2 separate regions of the Homo sapiens genome follow, and region 2 is linked to region 1. The links are contacts of gene promoters, found by promoter capture Hi-C in human tissues and cell types (Jung and others, 2019). All regions are on one chromosome and are shown on one strand. Each heading gives the region's core, a stretch centred on a gene start or on the middle of the fragment in contact. The rest is flanking DNA. Distances are from core to core; before and after follow the strand shown.

Region 1 (4,585 bases), core at 1-2,500:
GCCCCCGCACTGGACGCAGAAGATGAATAGAGAAACACGGAATTTCACCCCAACAAGAATGGAATCTTGAAGGCAGTTTACCTTGGAAGCTCATTTAGCAATCAAGGAAAAAAAAAAAAAGGGATCTGGAAGCTCCATTCTGGCGTTAGGGGCGGGAATGTTTTGTGTTGCATGAACAATGACTAGCTTGCTCAAGCAGCCTCCCAACCCCCACAACTTGGCTTCTGGTCTGGCCAGTCACCCTGAAAGCTGCCAGGGCTGTCACTCGGTGCCTTCCAACAACTGGACTTGGCTCCTAAAGGATTTGTCAGATCATCCTCCCAATATGGCTGCCCGAGTAATCCCAGTCGGCTGAATGCCGAGACCACACCAGCCTTCCTCACACCTGGCCAGCATCCAACAAGCCCCCTCCCTTCCTATCGCACCCCTCTTTCCAGGCCTCGAGCCCTCGGCTCCCCCAGCGCCAAGCGATGACCTTTCCTATCGCCATCTGGCAAAGGGCATAACCACATTCCCAGCCGAAGCCCGATGCCCACCACAAAGGAGGAAAGGGGAGAGGGAAAATGAGAAACGATGGCTTCAAACGAAGCACAGCCGCCCCCCGGGCTGCAACGTGCGCGGAGCCCAGGGAACGGCCAGGCAGCGGCGGGTCTGGAGAGCGCTGGGCACAGCCGGGGCCTGGCAGCGCGGGGGAAACGGAGGGCCGGTGCAGGGCACTGCGGGGGCCCCAGCCGACCGCTGGACGCCGGCCCGGGACTCGCTGCTGGCCTAGGGAGGGGTCCCCTCCCCCGAGGGCGAGGCTCCCGCACCCGGCGCCCGTCCCGCGCTACCTCCCCTCAGACCCCGCCCGGACCCCGGCCCGGCCGCTCCTCCCCGCGGAAGCGGCCCCCTCCCCAACCCCGCGACCGCGGCGCCAACCGCGGCCAGCCCCGCCGCCTTACCTCAGCCGCGCTGCAGACCGACGGGCGGACCGGGTCAACAGGAGCCGCGGCGCGCGGGGGCGCGGGGGGCCGGGCACCGACGCACCTCAGCGCGAGCAGCGGCCGCCGCGAGCCGCAGGGCGCCGCTCCGCAGCCCCATCACGCAGCAGCCCGGCACCGCATCGAGGTGGGAGGTGGGCGGTGGGCGGCGGACAGGAGTGCGCGAGTGCGGGAGGCCAGGGCGCGGCGACGGCCGGCGGTGACGGCTGCGGAGGACGGGGAGCTGCTCCGACGCGCGCGGGCGCCTCCCAGGACCGCTGCCGTCACACTGCCCCGCTTCGGCCCTCGCGAAACTCCGCCCGCAGTCGCCGGCGCGGGACACCGCCCCGAGCTGGGCCTCTGCGCGTCACCTCGTATCCGCCCCGGCGCCCGCGACGGACACGGGCTGTGACCAATCACAGCACAGAGCTCGGGGCGGCCAGCCAATCGTAGGGTGAGCCGGGGAGTGGGGCTGCTGCGGGGGGCTGCAGGAACATCGAGCGCCCCCTGGTGGCCCTCGGGCCGGCTCAACCAGGGGTGCGGGCTGGCCAAAGCCGGAGCCCGGAGTTCCCTCCCGGGTGACCCCCAAGGGCATTCGTCGGAATCAGCCGCCCCCAGCCACCCCGATAATCCGCCTTATACGGGGACAAAAGATTGACTGAGTGGAGCGGGGCGGGGCCCAGGGGTCCTGACGCCCGCAGAGGAGCTGGGATCAACATGGGAGGCGCCGAGAGTGGAATCATTGTCCGTCGGAAAACATCTCGCAGGCGGAACCGGCCGAACGCGGCGCGGTGGGAGCGGAACCCCGAGAGGGGATGAGCGCATCCCGCGGGAAGCTGCCTGGCCTATTCTTACAGAACCCGAGCAAAACACCTCCCACGCGCCACCTCGGGAGAGAAGGCGGAATGAGTAATGGAAAAGCATGACTTGGTGGGCATTCCACTTGTCTCCTTGGGAGACCGCGGAAGGGCTGTGAGGAGAGGAACAAACGCTTTGCACCGTCCCTGAGTTAACGAGCCCAGCCCCCTTCTGGGAGATGCCCTTGAAGGAGGGAGAGTGGAAGTTAGAAACCCGGAGGACACAAAAGCACGAGCAGTGATTTCTTTAAAATCAGATTTAGATTCAGCTGGAAAGAAAAATCTCACTGTTCAGAAACTGTTCAATTCAGTACTTAACAAAATATAATCTTCAGTGATAATATATTCAATTATCAGGCCCAGGCCGAGCACTATTACTTTATAAGGTTGTGAATTATTTTTATTTACTAGCAGACATTGAAAGTAAAATCACATGTCTTCCCCTGAATTAAATACAGTATTATTGTGAGTAAAAGGTATTATGTACAAGCATATGCACTAAAACATCGAAATTAATTTTCTACACTAATAATTCTGGAAAATCTCCACCACCACTCAAGTCCTCAGACTCTTCATCCGCTTTTATTGATCACGTCTCATTTTATAGAATTTAAGCTCCACCTACCTGCAAAAGGATTTGACATAGCTTACACTAAAGCATACAGCAGTGAAACCGTATAGCTTTAAAATAGGCGTAAAATTCATAATAATGAAACAAGCAAGAGACTTTTTAAAAGCTGTTTGAATGAGAGGCATGCCTAGAAAGAAAAATTTTTTTGTTTTGTTTTGAGACAGAGTTTTACTCTCGCCCAGGCTGAGCTCAGTGGCACGATGTCAAATCTCTGCAACCTCCGCCTCCCAGGTTCAAGCGATTCTCCTGCCTCAGCCTCCCGAGTAGCTGGGATTACAGGTGCCTGCCACCACGCCCGGCTAATTTTTGTATTTTTAGTAGAGACGGTGTTTCACTATGTTGGTCAGGTTGGTCTTGAACTCCTGACCTCAGGTGATCCACCTGTCTCAGCCTCTCAAAGTGCTGGGATTACAGGAATGAGCCACCGCGCCCGGCCAGAAAAACAATATTTTAAAAATCCATAGTCAAGGAAATATGTTGCCACTGAGCACAGAACTCAGCTCTTAGCTTCCTGACGGCTAAGAGTAAAATGAAACTATAGTAGGTTAATAAAGAGGAACTCATCAATTCAACAGTAGACACCACTTCATCATAGCGTGGACCTCCTTGCGTAAATACTGTGGTGAGCGCCATGGAGAGTTACGAAAACCTGGGTGGCTGTATTGCTTGAGCTCTCAATGGAGCACAATCTAAAAAGAATCTAAAACGTAGTGAAGAACCAGGCGCGGTGGCTCACGACAGTAATCCCAACACTTTGGGAGGCTGAGGCGGGTGGATCACTTGAGGTCAGGAGTTCGAGACCAGCCTGACCAACATGGCAAAACCCCATCTCTACTAAAAAATACAAAAATTAGCCAGGCGTGGTGGGCACGCCTGTAATACCAGCTACTTGGGAACCTGAGGCAGGAGAATCACTTGAACCCGGGAGGTGGACGAGGCGGCAGTTGCAGTGAGCTGAGATCCTACCACTGAACTCCAGCCTGGGAGATAGAGTGAGACTCTGTCTCAACAAAAAATAAAATAAAATTTAAAACAAAAACGTAGTGAAGAGGGTGTGATTGTGATTGGCAGGAGAAGAAGCTAGCCAAAGGGCACACAGAAGGCACAGAAGGGTCAATAAAGGCAAAGAAGGCTGCTCCAGGATCCAAGGCCAAACAGCCCACTCTGCATAAGCCTTTTGCCTCTCTGACAGATGAAGTCACACTGCCCAGCCAGTTTCTCAGATTACAAATTCTGTATAAAAGCATCTCTTTAAAATGATAAATAAATTACTAGAAAATTGAATGTAGCCATGATCTGGTAGGGCTGTCTCTGGAATGCAAGGATACGAGAACATCAGAAGTCCTAGTCACGTGGTGCACTGCCACTCTCCCATCACAATCACAATCACAATCAGGTTTCTGGATACAAAATCAATACACAAAAATCCGAAGTGTTCCTTTTTGATAGGAAGACTTTATTATTACTATTATTTTAGACAGGGTCTCACTCTGTCACCCAGGCTGGAGTGCAGTGGTGTGATCACAGCTTACTACAGCCTCAACCCTTGCCCCCTGGTTTAATCCATCCTCCCACCTCAGCCTCCTGAGTAGGTGGCACTATAGGCACACACCACCACGCCCAGCTAATTTTTCTATTTTTTGTAGAGACGGCTGGTATCCAGCTCCTGGACTCCAGTGATCCATCAACCTCAGCCTCCCAAAGTGCTGGGACTACAGGTGTGAGCCACTGAGCCTGGCCTTTATTGCTATTTTTAATGGGATCTTTTTAAAAAATCAAGTCTTCCCGGCCAGGTGCTGTGGCCCACGCCTGTAATCCCAGTACTTTGGGAGGCAGAGTAGGCTGATCGCTTGAGCCTAGGAGTTTGAGACAAGCCTAGGCAACATAACGAGACCCTATCTCTACAAAAAATACAAAAAAAAAAAAAAAAGTAGCCAGACATGGTGGTATGTACCTGTAGTCCCAGCTGCTTGGGAGGCTGAGTGGGAAGATCAATTGAGCCTGGAAGGTCAAGGCTACAGTGAGCTATGATTGCACCACAGCACTCGAGCCTCAATGACAGAGTGAGATCCTGTCTCAAAAAAAAAAAGAAAGAAAGAAAAAAAGCAATAAAAGCTATTCAATATTTAAGAATAAAT
Region 2 (4,364 bases), core at 47-2,546, 320 kb after region 1:
CTTGTGACCCATCAGGAGTTTTTGTCCCGATACCGTTTCCCACAGTAAGTTAATGGGATAAACACATGGGAGATTCTGAAGGGGTCTTTGTTTAAAGCATTGTTGATTTTGATTATTGGCTTGTTAAACATTTGGAGAGGAAGGAAACTGAGTCCTCAACAGCCTCTTAGGGGGAGGTTTCCTCCTTCCTTGGATTATGTTTTGTTCCGAGGTAGCTGGAGGGGAAAGGATCAGGAAGGTCGCCTCCTGCTTAGTAGAGCAGAAGCAATCACCCAAACAAGCAAGCAGTGTGGCTCACGTGATGCGTGGAGCCAGGAACCCTGGCCTCTGTAGCACAGATGGGTGTATTTGCGAAGTAAACAGATACACCTATATCTTTATGCAAATTAACACATACCTTTATGCTGACAGCCTGTTGGAAAGAGGCAGTGGCCTTAAAACTTCTTTTCTTTTTTTTTTTTTGAGACAGTCTCGCTCTGTTGCCCAGGCTGGGGTGCAGTGGTGTGATCATAGCTCACTGCAACCTCAGACTCCTGGGCTCTTGGGATCCTCCCACCTCAGCCTCCCAAGTAACTGGGCCTACAGGTGCAAGCCACTGCACACCCAGCTAATCTTTTTTTTTTTTTTTTTTTAGACGGAGTCTCGCTCTGTCCCCCAGGCTGGAATGCAGTGGCGCGATCTCGGCTCACTCCAAGCTCTGCCTCCCGGGTTCACGCCATTCTCCTGCCTCAGCCTCCCGAGTAGCTGGGACCACAGGCACCCACCACCACGCCTGGCTAATTTTTTGTATTTTTAGTAGAGACGGGGTTTCACCGTGTTAGCCAGGATGGTCTTGATCTCCTGACCTCATGATCCGCCCGCCTCAGCTTCCCAAAGTGCTGGGATTAGAGGCGTGAGCCACCGCGCCCAGGCTGCACCCAGCTAATCTTTTAAAGATTTTTTGTAGAAGCCAGGCTCGGTGGCTCATGTCTATAATGCCAGCACTTTGGGAGGCTGAGGTAGGCAGATCACATGAGGTCAGGATTTTGAGACCAGCCTGGCCAACATGGCAAAACCCTGTCCCTACTAAAAATACAAAATAAAATTAGCTGGACATGGTGGCACGCACCTGTAGTCCCAACTACTCGGGAGGCCGAGGCAGGAGAATCACCTGAGACTGGAAGGCAGAGGTTGCAGTGAAACGAGATTGCGCCACTGCACTCCAGCCTGGGCGACAGAGGGAAAGAGCGAGACCCCATCTCCAAAAAAAAAAAAAAAAAAAAAAAAAAAAATTTAAAGAGATGGGGTCTTACTTTATTGCCCAGGCTGGTTTTGAAGTCCAGGCCTCAAGCAATTCTCCTACCTCAGTCTCCCAAAGTGCTGGGATTACAGGCATTTGCCACTGTGCCCAACAAAACTTATTTTCCGAAGAGTTTGATTGGGAAGCGTTTCCCCAGGAGGCTGCACCTGGGGTCTCTCAGCCAGGTCCTGAGGATGACCATCCCCAGAGCCGGGTGGTGAGGAGGGGGCTGCTTCCGGGGGCACAGTCCTGCAGCCGATCCAATTGATTTAATGACCTAATCCTCACCACAGGAAGCTGGAGGCTTTCCCAGCCCTGGGATTCTGAGGGGATGCAGCAAACTCAGTTCAGGAAGCTTGTTTGTTTGAACCAATTATAGAGGCTTTAATGAGGGAAAGCTATGGAGGGAATGGGGCAAGGGGAGAAGAGCTGGAGAGAGAGGTGCCTGTTGAGAAGATCTGGGTGACCCTCAGGCAATGGGAGGGCCGGGCCATGCCCAGGCCTGCCTCTGAGGATGAGGCTTGTCCTTGTGGGAATGGGGTGGCGTGAACATGTCAGTGTGGTTCAGAGTGAAGGGACCTTATGTACCTTGTGGAGAAACGTGAGTGCCCCCCACCCCCGCCAAAAATAGCACTGTGTCAGTTTTCCCCCTTTCTTCTTGAAGTACTTTTAAATTTCCTAATGTAATTAAAATTTTAAGCTGTGACCCTGCAAAGAGCTGGCATAGCTTTTGACAGCGGGATTGATGGAGCTTCCATAGGTCAAAATTTCCAGTCTGATCGCACTCTCTGGAGGTGACCCGCACTCTCTGGAGGTGACCCATGCTCTCCAGAACCTCTGGGCCAGGCTCCATCCCTGGAATTACTAGGTCTGGAAGTGGTCCCTTCCTGACAGAAATGCAAATTAATTTGCCTTTTGGGGACTTAGTCAGCTTGCTGGGGATCTCTCTGGTGTCCCAGGAGAGAAAAAGCGTTCCTCTACCTCCAGTTGACACAGAGGATCTTTTGATGCCTTTGCTCAGGAAGCTTCCTGCCAGGTGCACAGCCCATGGGGAAGGTCGGTCAGGCCTGGGAGGCCTCATACCCAGGAGTGAGGGGGCGCTTGTACCCATGCAAGAGCTAGGATTCCAGCCCTTCCATTGGCTTATAAATAGAAGAAGGCTCTGGATTCTGCATTAGTAACCCCTCTGGAACCTGCCAGAGGCTGAAGGTAATGAGTCAGACTGAATTAAAGGAAGATCCGTGGCTGGATTTTGTAGGCGTGCTGGTTCCTGACTTCAGGTCTCAGGCTCTGACTTGGCCAGGTTCCAGGGCTCCAGCTGTTCTCTGGGAAGAAAAAAGAACCTCTTTTAAAATTAAGCCGAAAGATGCCTTTCTTTTCTTCTGTCCTTGTCCCCCCACTGTGCAGAGAGAAAACCTCCACCAGCACGTCCCCTTGGTTAGAACAGTAGAGCCTGAAGACATAGCCCAGGATCTTCAGTGTTCTGGGGCAGCCAAGGAAACTTCCTCAGGCTCCACATGCCTTCCTGTTTGCATTGTTTTCAGCTGAATTTCAAGAGGCTGTCAGAGCAGGCCTGCCAGGTACTCTTGCCTCTGTAAAAAGGTGGGTTTCACTCAATTCAGGACTGGAGAGACAACGAGATCTGGGCCAGAATCACAAGGATAAATATTTTAAACCAGAAGATGTAAACAGATGCCTCATGCCAATCCAGTTATAGGAACATGCAGGTTCCTCCAGCTCCTTGGTGTGTTAGGATTATCTGAAGTGAGGCCATGCAAAGGCTGGGGGGCACTTCCTTCATGGTTCCCATTCACTTCACCACTCGAGGAGCCCCAGTTGTGGCTAGCAGTGGTGTCTCACCTGTCCAGATTCTTCAGCACAGAGCCTTACAAGTTTTTCTAGGGTCCACAAAAATATTGGCCATGTGGGAAAAAAATATATCACTCCCTCTACTCTTGTGAGTTACGTGAGGATTACATTTAATAAGAGATGTGGGTTTGTTTTAGTATGTCTCTGAGAATAAGGTTCCCTGGGGCCTATAAAGGCCTTAAAACCACCCCCGGTCTGTCCTCAAAGAGCTTCCAGTCTGGTGGTGAACATTTCTCAGATATCCAGGTACAGTGTTGGGGCGGTGATGCGAGAAGAGGAAATGCAGGCGGATGTGCAGACACAGGCCTCGAGGCAGCCCAGAGAAGGTGTTGTAGAGCAGAGAACATCTGTGAGGCTTGGTCTCAGGAATCAGGGAGGGAAGGAAGTTCTAGGTGGAAAGCATAGCAGATGCAGAGGCCCAGAGATGTGGAGGGAGCCTGGTGCAATCGGCAGCTCCGAGATGGCCCCCTAGTAGGGCTTCTCACTCAGCTCTCCAGACGTGGGGCTGGATAATTATTGGTGGTGGGCACTGATCCTGGCCTCTACCCAGCAGGACCCTACTAGTCGTGACAATCAAAAATGTCTCTAGATATTGCCACATTTCTGCCGTGGGGCAGAATCGCCCCCATTGAGAGCCACGGCTGTAGAGGGAATATGAGGGTAAGCTTGGATCTGACCGCCTGCCTCAGTGCGTGGGAGGGACAGAAGGAGCCCTTTCTTTTTGCTTCCTGTCCAGCGTGCAGGTCCTGGGGAAGCTGTCTCCAGGCAGGTTTGTGCCTGTGCTGGAGCACTTTGGTGTGTGTGGCATGCCTGCTGGTGGCCTGCAGAGCTTGCTCTGAACAGGAGCCCCTTCATAGAAAGGAGGATGCCCCAGTGGTTCCAGGCGCCTCCCTCCCAGCCTGGTTGCCGTGTCAGTACCTTTCCTGCAGTAGGTAGGCGGCTCAGCTGGGTGCAGCATTGCATTCTGGCCATTGCGGGGCTGTATTGAATGAGGTCAGGTGGATTTGATTTAAATGCTCCCAGAACCTTCCGAAAGGGCCTTCATCAGAGAGCTCTGGACCTGGAACAGCGTGCACGGCACTGCTGTGAAGGGGACAGGCGGGCTACTCTGATCTCGGAGTGTGCATAGGGCAAACTGTTGAGAATTCCAGAATCACTCCCACGGCAGCAGACCTGTAGCCAGAGAGGAAAGGGTCCTCCTGCATTTGGGCTTCAT

Evidence for each region. The method cuts DNA at HindIII sites, captures the fragments that hold promoters and counts their contacts. A contact is called where the count stands out against the background at its distance.
Region 2: a fragment that was not itself captured here is called in contact with the fragment with the promoter of KIF1B in region 1 in 1 of the 25 tissues and cell types used here (dorsolateral prefrontal cortex).

The regions. Positions count from the first base shown.
Region 1 is chr1:10,207,235-10,211,819 of GRCh38, reverse strand. It overlaps KIF1B (kinesin family member 1B), which reads right to left and starts at 1,250. Exons shown (of 49, transcript NM_001365951.3): 1 at 942-1,250. RefSeq lists an enhancer at 1-117 and silencers at 1,019-1,538, 1,569-1,648, 1,735-2,029. The HindIII fragment of the contact is 21,697 bases long and covers 1-4,585 here.
Region 2 is chr1:9,888,689-9,893,052 of GRCh38, reverse strand. The region is part of intron 1 of CTNNBIP1 (catenin beta interacting protein 1); the gene reads left to right. Among named protein-coding and RNA genes, the nearest start is that of CTNNBIP1, 19 kb to the left of the region's middle. The HindIII fragment of the contact is 3,526 bases long and covers 1-3,059 here.